7 separate regions of the Homo sapiens genome follow, and regions 1, 2, 3, 5, 6 and 7 are each linked to region 4. Evidence: promoter capture Hi-C in 16 types of primary human blood cells and fetal thymus (Javierre and others, 2016). All regions are on one chromosome and are shown on one strand. Each heading gives the region's core, a stretch centred on a gene start or on the middle of the fragment in contact. The rest is flanking DNA. Distances are from core to core; before and after follow the strand shown. Region 1 has its middle 18 kb from the start of PTGS1. Region 2 has its middle 51 kb from the start of OR1J1. Region 3 has its middle 10 kb from the start of OR1J1. Region 4 holds the start of OR5C1 (olfactory receptor family 5 subfamily C member 1). Region 5 has its middle 32 kb from the start of OR1J1. Region 6 has its middle 3.2 kb from the start of OR1J2. Region 7 holds the start of PTGS1 (prostaglandin-endoperoxide synthase 1).

Region 1 (4,231 bases), core at 393-2,892, 440 kb after region 4:
TCAGAACCCACGAACTCAGGCACTGGAGGGAGCTGGGAATCTCAGAACCCTCACTCTGAGCCCTCACTCCGAGCCCTCCCTCCTTCCTCTTCCTTCCCTCTTCCTTTGGCTCCTCTGCAGACCTCTGGCTGGACTGGCTCTTCCTTCCTCTTTCCCCAGAACCCTCTCCCCACCCCCAGCAGCACTGGGGATAGACAGAGAGGAGGGATCTCAGCCCAGGCCTGGACCTTGAGGCACATGGGCAGCAAATGTGCAAGGCAAGAGTTCATTTGCTGCCACCCCGTCAGGCAGCCTGCGTTCTTGGACACAAGAAACTGAAATCCACCTCCCCAGCCTCCTGCTGGCCCTGCTGCTGCTCAGGGCCCACAACACAGGTCATTTTCTCTGCCCAGTGGGCCCTCAGAGTCAGGCAAGCAGCAATCACCCTCCCTGCCAACATCACTGTTTCCAGAGGCTACAAGCTCTCGGAGGCAAGCTCCTCCAAGAGGCATGAGTTCCGCCTCGGCCCTTACTAGCTGTGTGACTTTGAGCAAATCACCTTGCCTCCCTAAATGGCCAAGCCCTCATCACTAACATGGAGATAATTGTATGCATGGGCTTTAAAGGAGAAAAGAGATAGCATGGATAAGCACCTGGCACAGAACCTGGCATTTAAATGGTTAATGTCATTATGAAGTAGAGGAAATGTCCCTCTTCTGACCATGGCTTTTCACCAGATTTGTATCATTTATTTTCAAATCCTTTCTGAGTCTAATCTAGTTTTTAAGTTCTGTCCTATAGCACAGAGTTCAAAGTTTAACTTAATAACCAGTTCCTGGCTGAGCGCAGTGGCTCACGCCTGTAATCCCAACATTTTGGGATGCTGAGGTGAGTGGATCACCTGAGGTCAGGAGTTCGAAACCAGCCTGGCCAACATGGTGAAACCCCGTCTCTACCAAAAATACAAAAATTAACTGTGCATTGTGTCATGCACCTGTAATCCCAGCTACTCAGGAGGCTGAGGCAGGAGAATCACTTGAACCCGAGAGGCAGATGTTGCAGTGAGCTGAGATTGCGCCACTGCACTCCAGCCTGGGCAACAGAGGGAGACTCTGTCTCAAAAATAAAAATAATAAAATAACCAGTTCCTTAGTGCTTACTTTGTGCCGAGCACCTGGAACAGGGAAGAATAAGACAGAAGCTTCTGTGCCCACAAGGTACCCACACTGTGATGGGGGACACAGACATTGACCACTGACCAGGCAATGACCATGGGATAAGTCCTGGGAAAGAGGAGAAGAGGAGGCAGGTGAGGTACATGCAGGGCACCTAACTCAGTCCCCAGGGTCTTCCCAGAGAAAAGGTGTTCGTAGCAGAGAAGACAGTAGGTGCAAAGGCCCAGAGACAGAGAGTTCCCCTTTAGAGGAACTGTGAGAAGTAGATTGCATCTCAAGTGGATAACAGCTAGTACAGTTGACCCTTAAACAATGCAGGGGTGGCGAGGCACGGTGGCTCATGCCTGTAATCCCAGCACTTTGGGAGGCTAAGACAGGTGGATCACTTGAGGTCAGGAGTTCGAGACCAGCCTGGCCAACATGGTGAAACCCTGTCTCTACTAAAAATACAAAAATTATCTGGGCATCGTGGCAGGCACCTGTAATTCCAGCTACTCAGGAGGCTGAGGCAGGAGAATCACTTGAACCCAGGAGGCAGAGGTTGCAAGGAGCCTAGATCATGCCACTGCACCCCAGCCTGGCAACAGAACTAGACTCTGTCTCAAAAAAATAAAAATAATGCAGGGATTAGGGAAACTGACCCCCATGCAGTCAAAAATTCACATATAACTTTTGACTCCCCAAAAACCTAACCATTGATAGCCTACCGTTGTCCAGAAGCCTTACCAATAACATAACAGATGATTAACACATATTTTATATGTTATATATATTATATGCTATATTCTTACAATAAAGTAAATTAGAGAAAAGAAAATAGAGCCCCAATAAAAACTCTGAACACTGAGCTCAGATGCACTTCCTCAGTTGGCAATACTCCACAGATATTGTCACATTGATTCTAGGAGAGTGACACATTCTGATTCCATGGGAAGGACAATGGAAGCTTTACTTCATGTTTGAAAGAAACCCCCCTGGGCTCTGCCCTATACATCTCTCCCTTTGGCTGATCTTAATCTGTATTCTTTCCCTGTAATAAACTATAACCATGAGTATAACGGCTTTCAGTGAGTCTTGTGAGTCTTTCTAGCAAATTACGGAATCTGAGGGTGGTTTGGGGAACCTCTTGAACTTGTAGCTGGTATCAGAAGTGATGGTGGACAGGCATCGTGGCTCATGCCTGTAATCCCAGCACTTTGGGAGGCTGAGATGGGTGGATCACTTGAGGCCAGGAGTTCGAGACCAGCCTGAGCAACATAATGGTACTGTGTCTCTACAAAAAATAAAAAATCAGCCTGGCATGGTAGTGCATGCCTGTAGTCCCAGCTATTCAGGAGGCTGAGGTGGGAGGATCACGTGAGTCCAGGAGGTCAAGACTGCAGTGAGCCATAATCATACCATTGCACTCGAGCCTGGGTGATAGACTGAGACTCTGTTTCAAAAATAATAATAAACAAATAAATGAATAAATTTTAAAACTTTAAAATTTTTTGTCCAGGCACAGTAGCGCACACCTGTAATCCCAGCATTTTGGGAGTCCAAGGTGGGCAGATCACTTGAGCTCAGGAGCTCGAGACCAGCTTGGGCAACATAGTGAGACTTCATCTCTGGGGGAAAAAAATTAACACAAAAAATTATTTTTTAATTTTTTAATTAAAAAAAATTTTTAAGAAATGAAGGTGGGCCGGGCACAGTGGCTCACGCCTGTAATCCAAGCACTTTGGGAGGCCGAGGCGGGCGGATCACAAGGTCAGGAGATCGAGACCATCCTGGCTAACACGGTGAAACCCTGTCTCTACTAAAAATACAAAAAAAAAAAAAAAAAAAAAGCCAGGCTTGGTGGCACGCACCTGTAGTCCCAGCTACTTGGGAGGCTGAGGCAGAAGAATCACTCACACCTTGGAGGTGGTGGTTGCAGTGAGCCGAGATCACACCACTGCACTCCAGCCTGGGCAACAGAGCCAGACTCCATCTCAAAAAAAAAAAAAAGAAAGAAAGAAAGAAATGAAAGTGGTCTTGTGTGGAGTCTCTGCCCTCTAACCTTGTAGTTGGCCCAACTTAGCACAATTTCTTATGTGATATTTCAGTTAATAGTGCCTCTTAGGCACTATTATCATCAATCCCATTTTGGAGATTGGGAAAATGAGATAAGGAACCTGACTGAGGTCACACAGTTATCAAATGACAAAAGCGAAATTTAAAAGCAGATACCAGCAGGGCTTGATGGCTCACGCCTGTAATCCCAGCACTTTGGGAGGCCAAGGCGGGAGGATCATGAGGTCAGGAGATTGAGACCATCCTGGCTAACAGGGTGAAACCCCATCTCTACTAAAAAAAAAAAAAAATACAAAAAATTAGCCAGGCGTGGTGGCAGGCGCTTGTAGTCCCAGCTACTGGGGAGGCTGAGGCAGGAGAATGGCGTGAACCCAGGAGGCGGAGCTTGCAGTGAGCTGAGATTGCGCCACTGCACTCCAGCCTGGGCGACAGAGTGAGACTCCATTGCAAAAAAAAAAAAAAAAAAAAAAAAAAAGCAGATACCCAGGCACTAGCATCTACTCCTGTAACCACTGTGCTATGCTGCCCAGCTAGTGGGGGAAAGAGGGGGCTTGTGGGAAGCAGAGCTAGAGGGTTTGTAAGAGACTATTTCTAAGAGGGTGGCAATTCTAAGAGGCAGCCTGGCAAAAAGGCTAAGTTTTGTCCTGGGGGTAATAGGGAGCCATTGATGGTTTCAAGCAGGGAGAATATAAGTATTCATGCATTTTAACAAAGTCCCTCTGGATGTAGACTGGGGAGTGGATTGCAGACAGGCCTGAGTGGGGAGAAGACCAGGTGAGGACAATGACGCGGCTGGACCCGAGTCGTGGTCTTGAGAATAGAGAGCATGGGACACATGCCATATGTGCCTAAAAGGTAGGCTTGACAGGACTTCGGGACAGACCGGATTTAGGGGAAAAGAGAGGGGGAAGAGTCAAGGGTAAAACCCAGGCTTCCAGATTAGACAATTAGGGTATTAAGTCCCTTAGACTGGGAAAGACAGAAGGAAGAACAGATTTGAGGTGGGCCATACCACCATTAAT
Region 2 (3,926 bases), core at 905-3,404, 360 kb after region 4:
AAGGCAGGCAGATCACCTGAGGTCAGCAGTTTGAGATCAGACTGGCCAACATTGTGAAAGCCCATCTCTACTAAAAATACAAAAATTAGCTGGGTGTAGTGGTGCGCACCTTTAATTCCAACTACTCGCGAGGCTGAGGCAGGAGAATCACTCGAACCCGGGAGACAGAGGCTGCAGCGAGCAGAGATTGCACCACTGCACTCCAGCCTGGGCGACAGAGTGAGGTTCTGAAGAAAGAAAGAAAGGAAAGAAAGAGAGAGAGAGAGAGAGAGAAGGAAGGAAGGAAGGAAGGAAGGAAGGGGGAAGGAAGGAAGGAATAAAGAAGAAAGAAAGAAGAAAGAAAGAAAGAAAAAAAGAAAGAAAGAAAGAAAAAAAGAAAAGAAAAGAAAGGCCAAAATTAAAAAGTAGGTTTAAACTCAAAACTATCACCAATTACATCAAACGCAGATATTCTAACTACCTCCTTCCCAGAGGCTTAAAAAACAAAGATTATCACCATGGTTTTAAAAAGTTCCAACTAAATGCTTTCTACAAGAAATATAAATTAACCTAAAGATAGAGAAGAGTACTGGGAACAGAGCCAATTCTGCAGGGTTGTTTTTTTTTTTTTTTTTCAGTTCATGCATGAAAACTTCATTATGGACAAACACTGATCCACAGACTAACACTTGAGATGCCTTGGTGTAGAATACACTGGAATCTGGGAGTTCATTCAAAAGTTACGTAGTTTAAGGTTAAGATTTTATTTGGGTCCTGGAACACGTTCGGTGGGTGCTGTCTCAGCTCACCTGGAAGCAGATGTCTGATGGCCTTATTTCTAGGCACAAGTCCTCATTAGTCTCCTCAGCTTTATAAAGATAATAATAATATCATTTATTGAACACTTACTATACTCTTGTTATTGTGTTACATACTTTACTTGTGTAAACATATTTAATCCCAACGACAACCCTACAAGACAGATACTGATGTTATTCACATTTTATAGATGAGAACCTGGAGACTTGGTGAAATTTTTAACTTGTTTATTACTGCACAGTTAGTTGAGTTATGGAGTTAGAATCTGAAACATCTGTCTGACTGAAAGCCCTGCACTAAATACTAGTGTGTTGTTTGATTGCCAACTCTAAATAGGATTCACCTCTACTTGATTGATAATAGACACCAGCCGCAGCTTAGGTATCAACGAGGGACTATTAGTTGGTGGTCACTGATACTCAGTGTTTACCAAAAGTTTAACTAAAAGAAAATATATTTAGGGAAGCTTGCTCAAAGGACATGCAGGTCATCCATACCTACCTGCAAGACTAAAATCCAATATGTTGTCCACCCAAACCACTGGAAATCTGAGCACCTAGACAGCATTCTTTTTGCCTCTGAGCTATTGTTTACTGTGAATTTTTACACCCCAATTTGATTGCCAAAGCCTACATTAAGACGGATTAAAAGAAACCCCATGCAATGTGTCTGTTCTTAGAACCGCAGATGATATAATTTCACCTAATCAAGTGGTTTATTTTTACTTTTGGTCCCAGTGAACTGTGTGACTGACCAGAAAGCCTGAGCCAAATCTGAGGCCCACCCATAACAACAGTCATCATAATCTGCATTTTCAGAGTCATTCCTGGCTCAATTTTATGTCTCCACCCTTGTTTATCCCCCCTTTTGTTCTTTTTCTAACCTCATTTTCCATTTATCTTATCTTGTATTTTATACGTATTTCCAAGCTTCCTTAAATTCTTCAGGAATAAGACTTGGCATAAATATAAATAAATTTGAGGAAATCTACCAAAATGTAGAAACAGTGGTTACCTCTGGATAGCAAAAGTATAGATTTTTTTAAATCTGCATCTTCATAAAGGATCTCATGCCCTGACCATAAACATTCTTTCTTTTATAAGTATGAAGACATATTTCTAATTACAGATAAACTGTAAAATTCTAATTTTTTGTTATGAATATTGGTAAAAATGTAGTCCATTAATAGAGACTGAAGGTAAAGACGGTGATATTCATCAGGAGAGAGACTATATAGTTGATTTGATGTATCAAATTGGCTGAGCCATGGTAACAAGGTGTTTGGTCAAACATTATTCTATGTGTTTCTGTGAAAGTGTTTTTTTGGCAATTCCTGACCTACTGGTTCAATGAAATCTCAATCAAAATTCTATTGGGCTCTTTTGTAAGTTGAAAATTTTAAAATAAAATTTATATGGAAATGGCAAAAAACCTAGAAGAACCTAAATAACTTTGGGGGAGGAAAGAAGACCCACACCATGCAATTCAAGACTTACTAAGCTATAATAATCAAGACAGTGTACTTTTGGTTTTAAAGCTCAATCAAACAAGAGTTCAGAAATAGATCTACAGTTATATGGTCAATTGATTTTTGACAAAAATTCCAATGCAATAGAGAAAGGACAGTTTTTCAACAACTGATGCTGGAACAATTGGATATCCATATAAAAAAATCAATCCTTAACTCACACCATATATATAAATTAATTCAAAATGGATCATGGACTTAAATGTAAGAGCTAAAACTGTAAAACTTATAGAAGAAAACAAAAGAAAAGCTTTGTAACCTTGGATTAGGCAAATAATTTTCACATAAGAAACAAAAAGCAAAAACCATAATAGAAAAAAACTGCTAAATTCAGCATCATCAAAATTTTAAACTTCTGCTGTTTGAAAGATACTGTTAAGAGAATGTAAAGACAAGCCACAGGCTGGGAGAAAATGTTTGCAAAACACATACCTAATAAAGACTTTATCTAGAAAAAAGAACTCTCACAATCAATTATAAGACAAATAGCTCAAATAGTGGGCAAAGGATCTGAACAGACACTTAATCAAAGAAGATATACAGATGGCAAATAAGCACATGAAAAGATGCTTGACACCACTGGTCATTAGGGAAATGCAAATCAAAACCACAATGAAATACCACTACACATCACTAAAATGGCTAATACCAAGCTCTGGTGAGAGAAGCACCTGGAAATTGTATCCATTGCAAAATGGAGCAGCCCTTTTTGAAAACAGTTTAGCAGTTTCTTTAAAAGTTTAACACATACCTACCATACAACCCAGCAATCCTATCCCTAGGTATTTACCCAAAAGACAAGGAACCATATGTTCACACAAAGAACTGTATGCCAATGTTTAGAGCAGCTTTATTCACAGTAGCCAAACAGTGGAGACAGTCCACCAATGATGAATGGATAACCAAATTGTGGTACATCCATATGCAGCAATAAAAATGAACGAATTACTTATATGTGCAACAACTTGGAAGAATCTCAAAAAAAGTATGCAAAATCAAAGAAGCTGGACCAAAAAAAGGCTACATCTTATATCATTCTAATTGTATGACATTCAGGAAAAGGAAGCAGGAAATCAGATCACCGTTTGCCTGGGGCTAGGAGTGGCAGAAGGATAGTGACTACCAATGGGTAGGAGAGAACTTTTGTGGCAATAAGAATATTGTGTATCTTCATTGTAGTTGTTACATAACGGCATACTGTTGTCAAAACTCATCAAATGGAATACTTCCTATGAATAAATGCTATTGTTCATAAATTATGCTTTAGAAAACTTAATTTTAGAAAAAACACTTTGTAGAAAATAAAAGTTATATTTTAGAACTTAGGCTATGGAAAGATTTTCTAAATAAGATCAAAATGTAGCAAAAACAAAATATTGATAAAGTTGGCTCACATTAAAGCCAAAATCTTTGCAATAATCTGACTACAAGACTATGTGAACTGGTCCTGTGGCCATTCTGACCTCAGCTCCTGCCCCTCTTTATTCATTCAGCCCAGTCCAGCCATACTGGTCTGTTATTCCTTAAATACATCAGGTGCACTACTACCTCAGTGCTCTCACCAATCTCATTCTATAATGTTATGCCTCCTTCAACACAG
Region 3 (3,932 bases), core at 404-2,903, 320 kb after region 4:
TCCAAACTGTTCTAACTTCTGCCTGTTACCCAGTTCTAAAGTCGCTTCCACATTTTCGGGTATCTTTTCAGCAGTGCCCCACTTCCAGTACCAATGTACTGTATTAGTCCATTTTCATGCAGCTGATAAACATATACCCAAGACTCGGAAGAAAAAGAAGTTTAATTACACTTACAGTTCCCCATGACTGGGGAGGCCTCAGAATCATAGTGGGAGGTGAAAGGCACTTCTTACATGGTGGTGGCAAGAGAAAATGAGGAAGACGCAAAAGTAGAAACCCCTGATAAAACGACAGATCTCATGAGACTTACTCACTACCATGAGAACGGTATGGGGGAAACTGCTCCCCATGATTCAAATTATCTACCACTGGGTCCCTCCCACAACACATGGGAATTATGGAACTACAATTCAAGATGAGATTTGGGTGGGGACACAGAGCCAAGCCATATCACTTACCTGCTGCTTACATAAACATTGTCTTTCCTGTAGCAAGGAGTCAGGCTCAAGCGAGGGCAAACAGATCTGCCTGCTGGGCTGAAGTAGTTAATAGTAAATGAGCTGCTTTCACAATCTCAAAGGAAGTCACGACTGCACAGCCTGCACAATACTTGCCAGACTCATTCTTTAAATGTGAGCCATCTGTAAACCAGGACAACTCAGCATTGTCCACAGGAATTGCTCCCAAGGAATTAAAAGCTGGTCTGTCAGAGTTAAGCAGCCATGTGGTGTTTCATCTGATGGAGAGGTCCAGAGAGCCACAGGGTTAAGGTTATTGCAGCATGATTGAATAATATGATGAATAGTAAGTAGAAGAGGTTCATAGGAGGTTAGTCCGCTAGCAGAAAAATGCCAAGTGTGATGAGTGTGTAAAACGGCTTCCATGGCATGAGGAAAAAACACAGTCAGGGAGGAATCCCATGACTATCTCCTCAGTCGCCTTGACTAACAAGGATGCAGCGGGGACTGCTCTTAGGCAGAGAGGGAATCCACAGGAGATGGGATCCAGTTGTCAACTGTAGTATCCTGGAGGATGGTGTGGACCTCCATGCTTTTGGGTTAAGATCCCTGAAGTATTTTCTTCCTTTTCACAGACAAAGAGAAAAAAAAAAGAGTTTATGATTAGAATTACCTAGAACTGGAGAATTTATCAATTTCTCCTTTAGCTTTTTAAAAACTTACCCTTATGATTTTGTCCAAGTAATGGGGTCAGGTTTGGTAAATTTATGTAAAGCACATAGGAGTTGGGCCAGAAAAGAAAAGTTGGGAATTCAGTTTCAAAAGTAGCCAGTGAGTCCAAGAAACCCACTCACAAAGTTGGCATTTCTTTTGGGCTGAGGAAATTGTAAAATGCCTTGAATCTGTTCTGGTTCTAAATGTAATTCATTCTCTGAAATTAAATGGCTTTATTATTTCACCTGAGTTTTTACTCACTGCAGTTTTTCTTTACAGGCATTATGACCTTAAGCAGCCACTTGCTTTAATAGGTATACACTGTCTTTTTCACAGGCTGCCTGTGAAGGACAGCAAAGAAGGAAGTCATCTACATATTGTAGTAAACAAGAGCCTTGGAGAAAAATTACATCCTCTAAGTCTGCCTTTAACATTTGAGAAAATAGGAAAAACTTTCAGTAAACCCCTGAGGCATTAATGTCCAGGTGAACTGTTGGCCTTCCCAGGTGAAGGCAAGAAGATATTGGTTGGCTTGATCCCCTGGAATAATGAATAATGTAATACACAGATCAGTGATGGTGAAGAATCTGCTATCAATGGGTATTGGATTTAATACAGTATGGGGATTTGGAACCACTGGGTGCTTTGTAATAATACTATGGTTTATAACTCAGAGAGAGTTCCTGAACAAACCTCCTCCCATGGTTGTTTGGTCTTTTAGTAGGTAGGATCAGGGTACTCCAAAGACTGGTACAGAGAATAATGAGACTGTTTTTTATATTCTTTTATAATAAGTTTAATACCTTGCAGTGCCATCTGGTTTAGTGGCTGTTTAATATTAAGCAAGGGTTTTAATAGGTTAATCTGGATTTTAATAAGAGGTACACTATGAATTTTGAAAATATCAGTGAATGATTTTGCCTTTAAAGAGACAGGTATTTGATTCAGCACTAAATGAGTGACATTATTTTTGTTTTCTGAACAGGGAATGACATAACAAATGACAGAATTGGGGGAGTCTGTTGAGTGAGGACAGTTTAGTTTATCAAATTCTAAAATTATTTCCCCCTCTTGGGAAAAAGAAATTTTAGCATGGTATTTTTCAAAAAAATCACATCCAAGGTGGTGGAGCGGGGCAGAATTAACAAGCAAAAGGTGTGGGTGTCTTGGAGAGAAGACCAAGATGGAAAGAAATGGGCTGTGAAACAAAAGTAGTCAGTGGCTTTTTGGAAACTCACCATTTGTAATCTTTTTATTACTCTGAGGCAGGGGCTGACTGAGGCTAGGGGGATTAAGGATGAAAAATATTGCTGTGGCATCAATGAGCACAGTTAAGACCACACTCCCAGCCGGATGTGGTGGCTCATGCCTGTAATCCCAGCACTTTGGGAGGCCAAGGCAGGTGGCTTATGAGGTCTGGAGTTCGAGACCAGTTGTTTGAAGCCCAACAAGGTGAAACCCCGTCTCTACTAAAAATACAAAAAAATTAGCTGGGCATGGTCGTGGGCACCTGTAATCCCAGCTACTCAGGAGGCTGAGCCAGGAGAATCGCTTGAACCCAGGAGGCAGAGGTTGCTGTGTGCCGAGATCGCACCACTGCACTCCAGCCTGGGAGATAAGAGAGAAACTCTGTCCCCCGCCAAAAAAAAAACACTCCTAATTTGAAGGATCATTTCACTCAGAAAATTAAGTGGGAGAAGTGGGAAAATCCCCCATAAGTCCTTGGAGCCCCTTCACTGAAAGTGGTCTCAGATGGGAGAAGAGATGGGGGAGTTGGGAATGAAATTCCCCCTTTCTCTTGCAGCAATCTCTCTTCCAGCCATCTGGAACGTTGGCACAGCCCAGGGAGTCTCTGCCTAGTGTTATGTCTGGGAGCCTCAGTTTGCTGTAATTGTAACATTACGAATGTTAGTGGTTTTTAGTACTGTCCTCAGGGGTGCAGGCAAGGTGATTTGCCAGATTAACCAAATCAGAAGTGGACATAGTTTTCCATTCCATGTGTACTCTTTTGACAAGCTGAGAAAGTTCTTGAGAAAGGCCATTTGCAAACTTAGAATTACAGCCTACTTGAGTAGATTCGGCATCCATAGGTAATCCAGAATTTTCTACAAATACAACCCGGAGCCAACTGTAATAGTCGTAATCTGGTTCATTAGGTTTTGGGTACAGTCTTGGATTTTATTCATCTCAGGTTTCAGGAAAAGCCTCAAGAATAGCCTCATGAAGTTTTGTTGTTTTTGTTTGTTTGTCTGCTTGCTTGCTCACTGTGCTTCAGGCTCTGTCATAGTCTTTTGGGGTATTCTTGCCTAAAGCCCTCTCAGGGTCACATCAAGGAGCCTGGGCCATTCAATATTGGGCCTGGCCTTCACAAAAAGTATATGAACCAACTGGCACAGGTAAGAAAAACCTGGATGATAAGTCGAAATTATAATACTGTGTTAATTTTATCAGCAAATTTGAAAGGTCTCCATGACCTTTGGGAATTCTGCGGCAATGGCTTAAAGTTCAGCCTTGCTCCAAGGAACAAAAGAAATTTAGGATTTAGAGGAATCATCAGTGAATTTAACTTTCAAGGGACAGGTTTTAACAGGACCAGGTTCAGGGGTAGTGGGAGCTGAGGAATCCAGAGGGAAAGGTAATTCACTCAAAGAAGAAATAGAGAGAAGGAACAGGGGAAAGAGAAGAGGAGGTCTCCTCCAACGAGGAACAAGTCTGGGATCCTCAAGCCTTGTCCTTCCTTAACTATTTGTTTGTCTCAG
Region 4 (3,837 bases), core at 239-2,738:
TTCTGATCCTGTGTTAGTTTGCTGAGGAAAATGGTCTCCAGAGCCATCCACGTCCCTGAAAAGGATATCATCTCTTTCTTTTTTGTGACTGCATAGTATGCCATCATGCCCAGCTTATTTTTAACAATTTTTTTTTTTTGTAGAGATGGTGGGGGGGTCTCCCTGTGTTGCCCAGGCTGGTCTTGAACTCCTGCCTTGGCCTCCCAAAGTGCTGGGGTTACAGGCATGAGCCACTGCACCCAGCTGAATATTGAAGAATGTTTTGAATGTTGAAGAACCTGAGGCAGTGCAACAGAAACATTAGCCTGGTCTAGCGTCTGGCTCTAGGTCTAGCCCTAGATGAACCCCAAATCTTTTTCTCCCTGCTATAAGCTTTCATTTCCCTCTTTACTGTCCCTTAAACAATGACATGAGACATCCAAGCCAGAGGAACATCCCATCTTTACCGACAGTGACGGGGCCAGAAAGAGGCCCCGACCTTCCTCATCCCCTCATAGTCAGACCTACCCAGCCTCCCTGGACCAATCACTGGGACCCCTGCCCTGGACAGTGGAATCGGCTCCAGGTCTGCCTGAGGGCCTCCTTGACCTCCTTATTGCGGAGGCTGTAGATGAGTGGGTTGAGAGACGGGATGACCAGGGTATAGAACACAGAGGCCATCTTGTCAGTGTCCAGGGCATAGCTGGAGCTGGGGCGCAGGTACATGAAAATGAGTGTCCCGTACATCATGGCCACGGCTGTGAGGTGGGAACCACCGGTGGAGGCTGCTCGCCGACTGCCCTCGACCGAGCGCATGTGGATCACAGCCCCAGCGATGAAGCCATAAGACACCGTGATAGCTAACACCGTGGCTGTCTGGATGAAGCCACAGATGGCGAAGAGAAGGAGTTCATTGAGACTGGTGTCACTGCACGAGATGGCCAGCAGTGGAGGGATATCGCAGAAGAAGCTATTGATCTTCCGGGAGCGGCAGAAGCTCAGGCGGAAGGTGAGGGTTGTGTGAACAAAGGCACTCACTGCCCCACCCAGGCCTGATGCTCCCAGCAAGGCCAGGCATAGACGCTGCGACATAGCTGTTGTATAGAGAAGTGGGTTTCTGATGGCCACGTAGCGGTCATAGGCCATGGCTGCCAGCAAGCAACACTCAGTATCAGCCAGACCTGCAAAGACAAACATCTGGAGGGCACAGGCTGTGTAAGGGATGGTGGCTCGGGGCAGCAGCAGGTCCACTAGCATCTTGGGGCCGATGGCGGAGGAATAGCAGGCATCCAGCAGGGAGAGGTTGGCCAGGAAGAAGTACATAGGTGTGTGGAGCCGGGCATCCATGCGGATCAGCAGCGCCATGCCCATGTTTCCCAGCAGGCTCACCAGGTAGACAGGCAGGCAGGTCAGGAAGAGGGCCACACGCAGGTCCCAGCGATTTGTGATGCCCAGGAGGACGAATTCAGCAGGGGCAACCGCGGCCCGGGTGAGGTTCTCTGAGTTCATCCTACTGGACAGAGACTGAGAAGAGGCAAAGCAGGAGGGAGATAAGAGCAATGGCAAGGCCATGGCCAGGGAGAAGAAAGCATCCTGTACTGGGAGTTAGGTAGGCTTGGGTTTCAGCTCACCTGTGCAACAAAATTGCTGTGACCTTGAGCAAGCCACGTAACCTCTCAAAACCTGTTTCTAACTCTTAGAAGTCATTGCAGAAGCCTTTTTTTGTTTTTGAGATGGAGTTTTGCTCTTGTTACCCAGGCTGGCGTGCAAAGGTGTGATCTCAGCTCACCACAACCTCCGCCTTCTGGGTTCAAGCGATTCTCCTGCCTCAGCCTCCCAAGTAGCTGGGATTATAGGCATGTGCCACCGTGCCTGGCTAATTTTATATTTTTAGTAGAGATGGAGTTTCTCCATGTTGGTCAGGCTGGTCTCGAACTCCCAACTTCAGGTGATCCGCCCACCTCAGCCTCCTGAAGTGCTGGGATTACAGGCATGAGCCACTGTACCCGGCCCGTCTTTTTTTCTTTTTTCTTTTCTTTTCTTTTCTTTTTTTTGAGATGGAGTCTTGTTTTGTTGCCCAGGCTGGCGTGCAGTGGTGCAATCTTGGGTCACTGCAACCTCCGCCTCCTGGGTTCAAGTGACTCTCCTACCTCAGCCTCCCGAGTAGCTGGGACTACAGGTGCCCGCCACCATGCCCGGCTAATTTTTGTATTTTTTAAGTAGAGGTAGGGTTTCACCATGTTGGTGGTCAGGCTGGTCTTCAACTCCTGATCTCAAGTCTGCCTGCCCCAGCTTCCCAAAGTGTTGGGATTACAGGTGTGAGCCACCACGCCCAGCCTTTTTTTTTTTTTTTTTAAAGAGACACAAGGTCTCACTATGTTGCCCAGGCTGAACTAAAATTCTTGGGCTTAAGTGATCCTCCTCCCACCTCAGCCTCCCAAGCAGCTGGGATTATAGGCATGCTCCACCACACCCACAGGGGTCTTGTCCCTCTTATTCACTTTTGTGTCTACAGCACTGAGAGCATTGCCTAGCACATAGCTGGTGCTCAAAAAAGATTTGTTAAATGAATGAATGGGATGATATTTAGTGTCCAGCCAATGATTGAAAACTTTGTGACTCTATATGCATTCTCCTCTCCAGTTTTCCAGGTAAGAAAAGAGACAGTGGAATGAGCAGAAATAATCTTCAGATCCAACGGGCACCTGGCCATGGCTTTTGAGGTTTGCTAGTAGGGACATCTTTCCTTTGGAGTAAGATCGGAGAAAGGAGTAGCCTGGTATCTTGCGAAAACAGTGGGGAGTAGAAAGAACAGAAAATGTGAATATATTCCTGAGCTGAATTCTTGGCCTCTCTGAGCCTCAATGTTCTCATCTGGATAATGGGGGAAAGCTGCAAGGATTCGATGAGATAATGCATGTAAAGCTTCTCACACAGGGCCTAGCACACGCAGGCATTTAACAAAGGCCCTGCGAATGGAAATAAATTGAACTGGATGCTCTGGCTCCAAACTGGAAGGAAGCAACTTTATGGCAATCAAAAGTAGTATAATTCCCAGAAAATGCAATGTTGCTTCACACTCCTGTGCCTTGCATTTGTCCTCTTTGCCTGGAACCCATTTCCTCCTTTTGTGTTTGGTAAAAAGTTTCTCCAGTGTGAAGCCTTCCCTGATCTGTCCCTTAAAACTAAACATTTTTCTTGTCTGTGGCCTGCTGCACTGGAGCATACAGTAGTTCCCCCTTATCTATGGGGAATACGTTCCAAGACCCCCTGTGGATGTGTGAAATCACAGATCGTACTGAACCCTATATATGTGATTTTTTTCCCTATACATTCATATCCATGATAAAGCTTAATTTATAAATTAGGCATAGTAAGGGATAACAACAACAATAATAACATAGAACAATTATAACAATGTACTATAATACAAGTTAGGTGAATATGGTCTCTCTCTCTGTCCCTCAAAATATCTTACTTTTATATATATATATATATATATATATTTTTTTTTTTTTTGTTTTGTTTTGTTTTGTTTTGTTTTGTTTTTGTTTTTTTTTTTTTTGAGATGGAGTCTCACTCTGTCACCCAGGCTGGAGTGCAGTGGTGTGATCTCGGCTCACTGCAACCTCCACCTCCTAGGTCCAAGTGATTCTCCTGCCTCAGCCTCCTGAGTGGCTGGGACTACAGGTGTGTGCTACCATGCCCAGCTAATTTTTTTGTATTTTTAGTAGAGATGGGGTTTCACCACATTGGCCAGGTTGGTCTCGAACTCCTGACCTCAGGTGATTCGTCTGTCTCGGCTTCCCAAAGTGTTGGGATTACAGGTGTGAGCCACTGCACCCAGCCTGTTTTTAA
Region 5 (3,905 bases), core at 1,035-3,534, 340 kb after region 4:
CTTCCCAGTATCCATAGGGCCAGGATTTCATTTTCCCTCTTTGACCAAAAGACAGAGGTGCTCCATAGAAGACAGATGACTCCATGCCCAGTAACAGAGGCTACAAGAATTAAAGAAAGAAGAAAGAAACACAAAAAGTGGCTCAACAGTCAAAGAGAGGTTTATTTTGGAGAATAAACCTGAGAGGGGCTTCTGGCCAAGTTAGGTCAGAGGCATTCTCTCTTACAGACTGAGAGGTTTTAAGGGTTCAAGGCAGAAGAGCTTATCACGGGCTTGGAATGTTTGTCTGTCTTGCTTATCTGGGAGGGAGGGTTTTTGTGTCTGTTCCCACACATCTTCCTGCAGCTGCAGGCATACCCCCTGAGTCTGCTTTTAGCTTCCCTATCTTCGTGCACCTAAAGGGAAAGGAATGTACTTATTAGGACCCACTGTTTTACTGGGGCCCATTGTGAGTGTGAAGTTTGGTGGTTACCCAAGAGACTTTCCCCCTCTCTCTGTGCCCAAGCTGTCTTATCTGTGTTTTACCGTCTGCTCTTTCTGGCTGCTTATTGTTAGAAGATAAGTGATTTCCTTGAAATGCATGAGGTTAGAAAGGGAGCTGGAACTTAAAGTGGAGCTGTTTGTCCAAGATAACAGTACTCCTGCTCTGTCAGAGGCCAGTAACTGGAAGGAGCTGGAGGGCCACTATTGCAACTAAAACTGGAACAATTCTTAGAGTTTCCCCAATAGATAAATCATGTAAAACTATTCTTACTACATGCTGAAAATTCAGCACTTAAAGAGCCCCCGACATTGTCAATATCCCGAGAATCCAAAGAACCTGATAGAATTTGTAAACCAACATAACTCTAATCTACCTTCATCACTTGTCCCTGGACTAGCATAAATACACACACACACACACGCACACACACACAACCAAGCCACACTATTCCATTACCTGAAAACTATTGTCCCCCAATATTAAGCTATCCCATACCAAAAGACAAAATAGCATTTCACTTTTATAGACATCCCTCATATTCCAAAATACTCACTCCTGTTCCTCAACCTGAGTTACCTACAAATGGGGAAGCTGAGTCACACCTCTGAGATATGACCATGAAAGCTCTGGGAATATTCTCAGTACTAGGGAAGAGGCAATGACATGCTCCATCTCCTTGGGCTGTCCTTTGCTTGCTAAGCTTGGAAAAGGTTGACCAGGCATGATGGCTCACGCCTGTAATCCCAGCAATTTGGGAGACCAAGGCGGGTGGATCATTTGAGCCCAAAAGTTTGAGACCAGCCTAGGCAACATGGCAAAACCCTGTCTGTACCAAAAAAAAATGCAAAAATTAGCCAAGTGTGGTGGCACATGTCTGTAGTTACAGCTACTCAGGAGGCTGAGGTGAGAGGCTCACTTGAGTCCAGGAGGCAGAGGTTGCAGTGAGCGGAGATCACTTCACTGCACTCCAGCCTGGGTGACAGAGCCAGACTCTATCTCAGAGAAAAAAAAAAGAAACAAACAAAACAAAACAAAACAAATTGGAGAAGTCATAGAGCAGAGTTCCCTGAGGGAAGAGCTGGGAGAGAGACTACCCTGTTCCCTTGGAGCACAAAGGGCCCTAAGGAGGCCTGGCAAAGGAAGGTTAAAGCATTACAGTTGGGACAGGGTCTCCAGACCACACAGGTCCTCACTCAGTGGTTCTGGGTCACTCTGTCTGCTAGGATGGGAAGTTAGGATGGTGCTGGGGACCAGAGGTGGGGAATGAGTCAGGGATCTGAAGCAGTATCAGGAAAACCTATGACCACTGTCACTCTGCTTCCCTCTTCTTGTATCCTTGTTCTCCCCTAGGGAGTTAATGAGTGGGAAATGTCAGGTGGCTGGAGCCTTCAGCTGAAGTGTGGTTTCTGAATAAATTTGCAGACACAGTGTGGAAAAGGCTTCTGCTTCTGGACAGTGGAAATAAAACATCTGGACACAGGAGGCGCCATGACTAAATAGCCCCGTCTATCATGTATGCCTTCCTCACTGCCCTCCATGGGAGAATGGTGGGTTCCAAAATGTCCATGAGTCAAACATGGGCAAAAAATCACTCTGAGTGTTTTGATAAGACCCCAGTGAATCAGGAAAGGCTTATTCATGTGTTATTGTCCAAATGAACCCAATGAAATCAAGCACTATCCATGTGTACAGAAAGGAATGAGGGGTCACTATGACTAAACCTCTGATTTTTACATGTTTGGTTAATCTAAGTGCAGACCAGGCAGGCTTCCAAGATTTAGCTATGACTGGTTACTTTACTAAAATATTTTCTCTTCCTCATAGTATAAATACTAACATTTGGGGATGGGGATGTTGACCACCTGCTGGGCATTGTGCTTTAACATGCTTTTGTTCAGCAAATCTTCTCAACTTTGAGATAGGTACTCCCATTGTCCCCACTTCACAGATGGAGAAACCGTGTCACAGAGAGGTTAGGTGACTTGCCCTAGATCACTTGCCTGATAAGAGGCAGGACCATATACCTAAAAAGTGGACCAGCACCCATTCTCTTAACCTCCATGCACATGACCTCTATTACAGGCAAACCATTTACTCTTTTCATGGAGAAGCCAAGAAGTCCAGGTACCAGTCTTGACTAACAATAAAAATGTCAGGATAATTAAGGTTCTTCCTCCCATCATGCTCCAATTTCTCCCTTCTTTAAAATGATCCTAATGGATCTCTAGGAATTTCTCCAACTCAGAGTCCCTAGGAGTCTGTTTTAAAGTTGAAGCTGTAAGAGACCAAGAGGCACCTTCAAGGAGAGGGGTTCCCGCCATTCTGGTTGGTCTCTGTCCCATCTGTAGTGACTTAAATGGAATGCTGCTCTTTAGATAGTGGCTTGAGGTCTGTTGCATTTCTTCTTTACATCTGTTCATAATTATAAATGTCCATCTAAGCATTATTTCATCTCGAAAATATTTATCAAGGGACCATTGTGTCCCAGGCACCATGCCAGGTGGGATGGGGTAACAAGGAACCAGACACAGTTCTTGTATTCAGGCAGCTCACAGTCTAGTGGGGAAGACAGTGTTGTAAGTACTGATTTAGTTCCAGGTCGTGTGTGTGAGAGGGTTGCCTATCGTGGAGGAACATCAGGAAGGCTTCCAAAAGGATGCAATATCTAATCTGAGGCAAAGGGTGAGGACTAATCACCAGGGCTAACAGAGAGAGGGAACGGGCATTTTCAGGCAGATGGAATAGTAAGTCCCTAAGGCAAGAAGCAGCAAGAAATATTTTACAATGGGCACATGGAATGCAAGAAGTCAGGGAGAAAGGCAAAAGATGGAGCAGAGCCCAGCAGGAGCCCATCATGGGAAGGAGATTAGCTTTAAGTCTGCAGGCCATGGAGAAGCTTGTGCAGCACAAACATCACTGTTATGGCTGAATTGTGCCCCTTCCAAAAAAAATATGTTGGAGTCCTAACCCCTAGTACCTCAGAATGTGGCATTATTTGGAGATGGGCCCTTTAGAGAGATAATCAAGTTAAGATAAGGTCATGAGGGTGGGTCATAATCCAACACGACTGGTGTCCTTATAAAGAGGAGAAGTTTGAATACAGAAACAGAAACACATGTGCATAAAGGAAGGCAATATGAAGAGACACAGAGAGAAGACAGCTATCTACAAGCCAGAGAGAAAGGTTCAGAACAGATCCTTCCATCACAGCCCTCAGAAGGAACCAATCCTGACAACACCTCAATTTCGGACTTCCAGCCTCCAGAACTGTGAGACAATACAAATACACTTCTGTTGTTTAAGCCATTCTGTTTGTGGTACTTTGTTACTGCAGCCCTATCAAGATAATACAATGATGTATTCAAACTTGCATTTTATAAAAACTGATTTGCCTACAATGTAGAGAATGGATTGAAAGGGG
Region 6 (3,654 bases), core at 913-3,412, 280 kb after region 4:
GCATTTTCTAGTTCTTTTGCAATCCAGTCTCCCTTTCCTCCCTAGGCAATAACACTCATCCCATAACAAACTGTGAAGGCTATTATCAAAAGATGGCAAAAGAAGTGAGATTTTAAGTGTACTCCAAGTTTTCAGCTCCCTCTTGGGTACTCCTGTCATCTTAAAACACAACACCTCCTAGTCAGCTGTGGTAAGCAGAATAAGAACCCCCAAAGATGTCCACATCCTAATCTCCAGAACCTGTAAATCTGCTGTGGTGCATTCCAAGGTGGGATTAAGGTTGTAGATGGAATTAAGGTTGCTAATCAGCTGACTTTAAAATGGGGAGCTTATCCTGGATTATCTGGGTTGGCCCAGTGTGATAATGAGTGCCTTAAATGTGGAAGAAGACATAGAAGAGTCTGAATCAGAGACGTATTCGAAGATGTTATGTTGTTGGCTCAGAGGACGAAGGAAGGGGCCATGAGATAAGGAATGCAAGTGGGCTCTACAAGCTAGAAAAAAGCAAGAAAACAAGATTATGCTCTAGAACCTCTCGAAGAAATGCCAACCTCTTCAGTTTTAACCCACTGATACCCATTTTAGACTTCTGACCTCCAGAACTGTGATATAATAACATTTGTGAGGTTTTTCTAAAGCACTAAGCTTGTGGTAATTTGTTAAAGCAGTAATAGAAAACTGATACATCAGCACTGGAAAGACTTCAGGTATATCCAAATATTCTGGTTATCTAGGGACCAGAATGCAACAAAATCCATGTGTCCTTCCCCAGCTTCCATCTTGCATCCAACAAAACAAAGCAATCACTCAGCAGAGCTAATCCTTACCTAACCAGCAGGGAAATAAGGCTGCTATCTCATTGGAAGCATTTGTCACTAATCATAAATGAGACTCTATGCCATCCCTCTCCTACAAATTTCAATATTCCTTTAATAAGGAATATTCCTTTAATAAAATTTCCTTTAATAAGAAAAGGCAGAGAGTTAGAGAGGGCTCTTATCCATCCAATGAGCTTCTGGCCTAGAGCAAAAATTCAGCAGAAGACAAGTCGGTGGCAGGTTTCAAATCTTTCAGTTTTTAAATCTAGCTATATATAGACCTCAACCTAACTCCTTAAAGACATCCCCACCCTAACATACATATTGAGGTCAGTAAACACAGTGTTCCAAGTGTGCTAGGCTCAAGCATCTTCCTTTTCCTAATCTTCTCCTTTTCCTCCTCCTCCTCCTTCTCCTCCTTCTTCTTCTTCTTCCCCTTCTCCTTCTTCTCCTTCTCCTTTCTCTCTCTCTCTCTCCCTCTCTCTCTCTCCCCCCCTCACTCTCCCTCCTTCCCTCCCTCTCTGTCCTCTACTCCCACTTTGAAGGCAATGTGAGACTAGAGAAAAAGCCACAGATTTTGGAATAAGATAGGCTTGGTCATCATAAAACTTTGGTTGTGGCATTTTTGTCCATAGCAGGTCTCTTAACTCTTGCGAATCTCAGAAAGATGAAGATCTTTAAACAGGATGCAATTATACCCCATAAGGTTTTTGTAAGATGAAGTGAGATGACATATTTGAAACCCCTAGTACATTTGCTTGCATAGTGCTCAGCAAATATTGGTTTCCCTCCTGCCACAATTAAAGACAAAATGCAAATCTACCCAGAGAGGAGCCAGAGGAATTTACGTCCTTTTACACGCAGGAGAAAATTATTCATATTAATTCCTTTGCTGGACTCTGGGTGTGGATTCCTTAGACAAAGTTGTGGAATTGAGTATACAAACTGCTGGCAAACCAAGAGCACAAACATAGAACACATATGAGCACAGGGGGAAAATGATCATTCTACTGCTGGAGTTCTCATTCAGACAAGTGAGAAACAGGCACTACTTACCAGGGAGGGAAAACAAAAGGGAAATTCAGGAGAGAGGCTCGTTCTCACATAAGTAGCTTATATTCTGATGCCTAGCAGCTGAATGCAATGCCTTGGTGTAGACTGTATTTGGGGATAAGCTGGATAATTTATAAGGCAGCCAAGTGCCAGTCCTTCAGCAGCCTACCAAGACTCAAAGCCAATGGCAAGAGGATAACTGAGTGTTCAGCAAGATATAAAGAGATGACTTTGTTTACCCTAATCCCAGCCTCCTAAGTATTTTCCCCTTTAATGACCCTTTTTAACTCCATTCTTCTTTTCATCTTCAGGTGCCCTCTGATTGCTTCAAAGGTCACGACTTATCTGACAGTTCTGACACAAGCAAACATCAGGAACTAAACAAGTGACTCCTTTGGAGAGACGTTTGTCCTTATAAGGCACATGCATTCATTCAACAAACAGACCCTTGAAACCTACCACAGATAAGGCACCATATTTGTGTTGTCCTGAGTAAACAGAGAGGAATATGCTTGTCATCAAAGAAAAATTATCCCAAATGTTGGCAGTTGAATAATTTTTATAGCCAATGAAGGACACATTTTGGAAGTGTAGGAGGCCTTCCCAAAATTCCTGATTTAAACACCAAAACAACTTTGGAATGCTTGGATTCTTTGCTGTTCAGATCTGGTTTTCTATGTCAGGATCCAAGGCAGAAAAATATTCCTCCAGTATGTCAGTCTCTCTCTTCGTTCATCTTTTTCTCCTTTTGCCCCTTTCTCTCATCCTGTCTATGTCTGCCACTCAATATCTCTCTGTTCCTTCCTTCTCTCTCTTCCTCTGTCTCTCTGTGTGTGTCTTTTTACATTCTATCTCTTCTCCCCATGCCAACTGCTGCCTTCTGTTTCTTCCTCGTCTATATGCACTTATAAACTCATCTATTGCTGAGAGGGAAAAAATACCCATTCCATCTCCAGTGCTTACCTTCCCTGCATTTATGATCCAATGTTTGGTGGATAAGTGTTCCTAAGGTTCTCATTATGGGATCTAAAAACCAGCTTCCAAGATTCTAGACATTTCTCAGACACCAAGAATAAAAGCTACAAGTACAAACTCATTCCTGTTTACAGCCCCAGAGCTGTGAATCGAAGAGCTTAACTAAGGAGAAAACTCTAGGGAGTAGGAGATTGAACTGGTAATCTCCAGTTAAAGATATCCATAAAACATGGATTAATTGTCCAATTTTCCCCTTGATTCCACTGGGAAAGGTATTCTGTGGGAGGATATTTGTCCTGGGAACGTTAGAGGGTGAGTACACAAAGAAAATATCTCAAAGTACCCTCAGTCTCTCTTCTGTTCTACCCTCTGTTTTTCTAGTCTTAATCACACTTTGGATAAATCCTAGGGAGGTTAAAAAAAATACTGACTCCAATCATGTTTAAATAGAAGAAATCCATATGACTGCTGGGCTCTGAGAATTTAGGTAGAACCATATCCCACTCCAAGGGATCTTACTGAGTCCTACTCATCAGGTAGCCCAAAGGAAGTGACTTGTGTTTCTTCTCTCCGGTGAACATGAGGAAATACAGAAGGAGAAAGAGGCAGAGATCATCATCTTTTTCGAGGTTTTATTGTTTCATTGACAAACTTAGGTATGGTTATATCAAATAAAAATAGTTTTCAAGGAAGAAATGAAAAAAGGAGAGAAGGAAGAGAAGGGAAAGAAAACTAAATGAACAAAAACAAAAGAAAACAAACTTGCAAATAGAAAAAAAAAACAAGTTGACACGCAAAATCTAGAAAA
Region 7 (3,681 bases), core at 187-2,686, 420 kb after region 4:
GTCCACAACCAACCTTTGTAAACTTTAAAGTGCTGGCCACATGAGTCTTCCTCCTCCTCTTCCCATAAACCAGACTTTTATTCAACGCAATCCCTTTCCTAGAGCACCCTCCGTCCTCTCTTTGGGTCCCCTAAATGCCACCCACCCAAAGCCCGTTTCAGGAAACTTGGTCTGATCCAAAATCCATGTACATATCTTTCCTCTTTCCCCCACGCACCAGATCCTTAGAGCATCACAGCAGAAAGTGCGGACTCCCTCTGCTCCCTCCTGCCCTCTCTGGGCCTCATTTTAGAGATTTTACACAGCTAGGTGGTGGAGGAAACTATATCCAACTGGGACACATGCTCACACACACGCACACACACAAGCAGCGAGCTGGGGGAGGAAGGTTGGCTGAGCGAGGAGCTGAATTCCTTCACCTGGAACCTGGCACATGCATGGGGGAGGGAAGGGCGGAATTTCCCCATCAACCTCCCCCATGAAACCCAGAGTGGCTCCGGGTCCATTGTGGGTAGAAGCAGCTTTCTGTGGAAAGACCTTGCGAAGTGTGTGGACGCAGACAGACCTGAGTTCAGATCCTGGGCCCACCATGTATTTTGTGAGCTTGGGGAATCATGGCACCTACTGAGCCTCGGTTTCCTCATTTGCTCAATGGGGATCTCTTAAACCCCAGATGAAGCATCCCGGCTCCTAAATGTATTTCCATCTCCCATGTTCTCCCGAAGTCTTCACCAGGGGAGACCTTCTCCACTGGCAATGGGAATCAGGATGGGTTCCCAGACGGTTAGAGGCTGGAGAAAGGGAACTCATTTCCCTTGGTGCCTGCGGCTTCCTCCCAAAGAGGCCCCTATAGGAAACAGCGGGGTTGTTGGGTGCAGAGGCTGCTTAGACATCTGGGGCCCAGAACAGGTGAGGGGGATGGATAGGGACTGTCCCTTCTCCCCAAGTTGGCACCAGATCCCAGTCTGCTGTTTCCCCTGAAAGAACTAGATAGCCCATTAGCCAAGGCCACACCGCCGGGGGGGCTTCAGGGAGCCCCCATCCCACCAAAAGACTCAGCCTCAGTCTTTCTCAGCACCGCGAGCAGAAAGGGGAAGCTGGGCCCGCTGGAGGGGAAAGGAGGGGGTTGAAACCAGGCCAGGGGCGCAAGACCGGGGATTCCCTTGGGGAGGGATGGGGCCGCCTACCTGGCGTGGGCGCCCCTGGGTCCGCGAGCAGGACGGGGAGCGGCGGGAGCAGGAGCAGGAACAGCAAGAACCAGAGCAAGAGACTCCCTGCAGAGGAGAGAGATGAGGGGCTGAGCCTGGCATTCAAGGCTCCACCAGGAGGCCAAGAAAATTCCCCACCGGGCACCGGGGTCGCACTCACGGCTCATGGCGCGGCTGCTGGGGTGCGGGACGCAGAGTGCAGGCTCCTGTGCGTGCGCCTCGCACACTGCCCGGAGCTCCAGCCCATCCCCTCCCCACCCTTCCCCCGGCTCCACCCCCGCTCCTCCCTCCAGCTGTCACCTCGGCTGCCCGCTTACTTCCTCTGCCCAGCCCCGGCCAAGGCATTTTATTAATTAGTGTATGCTCGCCGCTAAAGCGGCTTTTCACCCAAGATCCTTGAAGCACTTACGTTTCTGATGCCTGGTGGCACTAGATATAGACAGGAAACTGAGGCTCAGAGACGATGCTCAATGCTGAGGTCACCCAGGGCTTAGGGACAGAACTGGGGATGGAAGCGGCTCGTCTGAACCACATACCCTGCCCCGCAGAGAAGAAAGGGTCTCAGAGTCCCCTTCTGTAAAATGGGTCTAACGCACTCTACAGAAAAGGGTAGAGAAGAAAAGGGGCTAGAAACAGGGCAGTCTGCAGAGAAGAAAGGGGGCTAGAAATGGGGCAGTCCAGCCTGGCCTGCTGATGGTTTCCTAGATGAGAAACTCACTACTCCTCAGACAGATCTAACAGGAAGGACTTACTTCCCCCATGGGCTGGGCTCCGCCCCCTGAAGCCACAGGTCTCTGCCAGAAATGAAAAGACCGGGCTCCAAACTCCAAGAGAGCCTAGTTCAAATCCAGACTCCACAGCTTACTGGCCGTGTCACCTTGGACAAGGTACTTATCTTTTCTAGCCCTCAGTATTCTCATCTATAAAATCGGCTTAATAGCAAAAACCATCCCAGAGGGTGGTTGTAAGATTCAATGAGGGAATGCACACAAATCTCCTGGTGCAGTGTCCAGCATGTAGTAGGTGCTCAGTTATCGGAAGGCATTTTTTCAAAGATCTCTGAACTCAGATTCCAGGGCTGGCCAGGGTCCATGCTGTAGCTAGACTCACATCCACCGCCGAATTTATAGAATCCCAGCATCCAGCTCTCCTTTTCGCCAGCTCAGGAAGCACCTAGAAGGAGGAAGGAATAGGTCCAAGATCACCCAAAGTCCCATGGTGCTGGCACCCACAAGTCATCTCCCTCAGTTTCCCCAGCACACCCAGCCATCCTGTGGGCCCCACAGTGGGGAAAGCCGGCAGGAGAGCTCAGAGGTTCTTGTGCTGGCTCCTGGGCATCACTGGGTGCAGGGTAGAAATTATGCCAGGTGGGAGAGGTGAAACCTGCTGGGAAGCCCCTCCCCCATTCTCACCCAAGCTGTTCCCATGCTCCCCTGGGACAAAAGCCAGCTGCCCTAGGGAGACAGAGCAAGCCAGGGCAGACCTGGAGAAGGAGTGGGGCATTGGAGGGCCCTGGGGCTCTCAGGGTGCCGGGACCGGCTTCAGCCTTCCCTTCCTCCCCAAATCAAGGGCCCCCTAGCATTTACAGGGCAAGGAGATGGGATTATCAGCAAAAGGGATGGGGACAGGGTGGAGGTGTGGGGGTCCAGTTGTCCAAAGAAAGGGGGAGTTTCTGGTGAGAAGAAAGGAGAGACGGGCTTGAATGAGGTTCCATCTTCCACTCCCAGGCCCTCCCTCCCTTTGGGCCCTGAGCCCATCAAGTCACCACACCTGTGCCTCCTGCTGACTTCCAAGCCACCCATCTGCACTCAAAACAAGAAACACTTGTGTGGCCCTGGCACTGATGGGAAGAGCCTTCACCTCAGAATCAGAAGTGAGTTCAAGTCACTTCTTCCATAGCGTGACCTTAAACAAGCCGCTAGGCCTCACTGGGCCTCTGTTTCCCCATTTGAACAACAGAATGAGCAGATCAGATGGTCTCTGAGGACTGGTCCAGTTCCAGCATGGAGCAATTGAGCCCTCACTGCAGCCAGGCTCTGTGACCAGCACCACAGATCTCAACACAGCTGCAATACAGGAGAGGATGGAGTCTGAGAGAGCAGGCAGGGTGCCGAGGCAGCCCTCCAGGGATGAGGCAGGACCAAGAGCATGGAGTGGGGAGAAGGTAGATGAGAGAAATGGTGGCAGAAGTGCCAGGGCTTGGTGACCGATTAGCACTAGAGCTTAGGGGAAGAAAGGTGCTGAGGACACCTAGCCTTCTGGCTCAATGCTGGTGGTAATATCCAGGGAAGGGGAGCTGGCATGGGTAGGTGGAATTTGAATTTGGGCTTCTTGTATTTGATCCACTTCAAGGAATGAGGAGGATCAAACCTTCCCTGCCTTCTCCAGCTTGGCCCATGGGCCAGCACCCCCAACCGCCCCAGCATGCAGCTGGATACACAGGGGAGAGGTCTGGGGTAGCCCTTGCCCCAGC

Evidence for each region. Contacts are between HindIII fragments. The CHiCAGO score rates a contact against its expected background, and 5 or more counts as called.
Region 1: a fragment that was not itself captured here is called in contact with the fragment with the promoter of OR5C1 in region 4 in 1 of 17 cell types (naive CD4 T cells); the score reaches 6.5 in naive CD4 T cells.
Region 2: a fragment that was not itself captured here is called in contact with the fragment with the promoter of OR5C1 in region 4 in 7 of 17 cell types (total CD8 T cells, activated CD4 T cells, naive CD8 T cells and 4 more); the score reaches 7.8 in total CD8 T cells.
Region 3: a fragment that was not itself captured here is called in contact with the fragment with the promoter of OR5C1 in region 4 in 8 of 17 cell types (endothelial precursors, megakaryocytes, M0 macrophages and 5 more); the score reaches 12.1 in endothelial precursors.
Region 5: a contact is called between a fragment that was not itself captured here and the fragment with the promoter of OR5C1 in region 4, in 1 of 17 cell types (endothelial precursors). The highest score is 5.2, in endothelial precursors.
Region 6: a contact is called between a fragment that was not itself captured here and the fragment with the promoter of OR5C1 in region 4, in 6 of 17 cell types (endothelial precursors, M2 macrophages, M1 macrophages and 3 more). The highest score is 12.6, in endothelial precursors.
Region 7: the fragment with the promoter of PTGS1 here is called in contact with the fragment with the promoter of OR5C1 in region 4 in 10 of 17 cell types (naive CD4 T cells, total CD8 T cells, endothelial precursors and 7 more); the score reaches 8.6 in naive CD4 T cells.

What each region holds. Positions count from the first base shown.
Region 1 is chr9:122,350,908-122,355,138 of GRCh38, reverse strand. No RefSeq gene overlaps it. Among named protein-coding and RNA genes, the nearest start is that of PTGS1, 18 kb to the left of the region's middle. The HindIII fragment of the contact is 920 bases long and covers 1,183-2,102 here.
Region 2 is chr9:122,424,572-122,428,497 of GRCh38, reverse strand. No RefSeq gene overlaps it. Among named protein-coding and RNA genes, the nearest start is that of OR1J1, 51 kb to the left of the region's middle. The HindIII fragment of the contact is 849 bases long and covers 1,730-2,578 here.
Region 3 is chr9:122,465,713-122,469,644 of GRCh38, reverse strand. It overlaps a transcript of OR1J2 not described here. Among named protein-coding and RNA genes, the nearest start is that of OR1J1, 10 kb to the left of the region's middle. The HindIII fragment of the contact is 4,683 bases long and covers 1-3,932 here.
Region 4 is chr9:122,786,584-122,790,420 of GRCh38, reverse strand. OR5C1 (olfactory receptor family 5 subfamily C member 1) reads right to left here and starts at 1,488. Exons shown (of 1, transcript NM_001001923.1): 1 at 526-1,488. The coding sequence starts at 1,488. The coding sequence ends at 526. The HindIII fragment of the contact is 2,532 bases long and covers 375-2,906 here.
Region 5 is chr9:122,443,624-122,447,528 of GRCh38, reverse strand. It overlaps a transcript of OR1J2 not described here. Among named protein-coding and RNA genes, the nearest start is that of OR1J1, 32 kb to the left of the region's middle. The HindIII fragment of the contact is 2,196 bases long and covers 1,187-3,382 here.
Region 6 is chr9:122,505,782-122,509,435 of GRCh38, reverse strand. It overlaps a transcript of OR1J2 not described here. Among named protein-coding and RNA genes, the nearest start is that of OR1J2, 3.2 kb to the left of the region's middle. The HindIII fragment of the contact is 3,029 bases long and covers 648-3,654 here.
Region 7 is chr9:122,368,779-122,372,459 of GRCh38, reverse strand. It overlaps PTGS1 (prostaglandin-endoperoxide synthase 1), which reads right to left and starts at 1,436. Exons shown (of 11, transcript NM_000962.4): 1 at 1,369-1,436; 2 at 1,188-1,274. The coding sequence starts at 1,375. The HindIII fragment of the contact is 9,806 bases long and covers 1-3,681 here.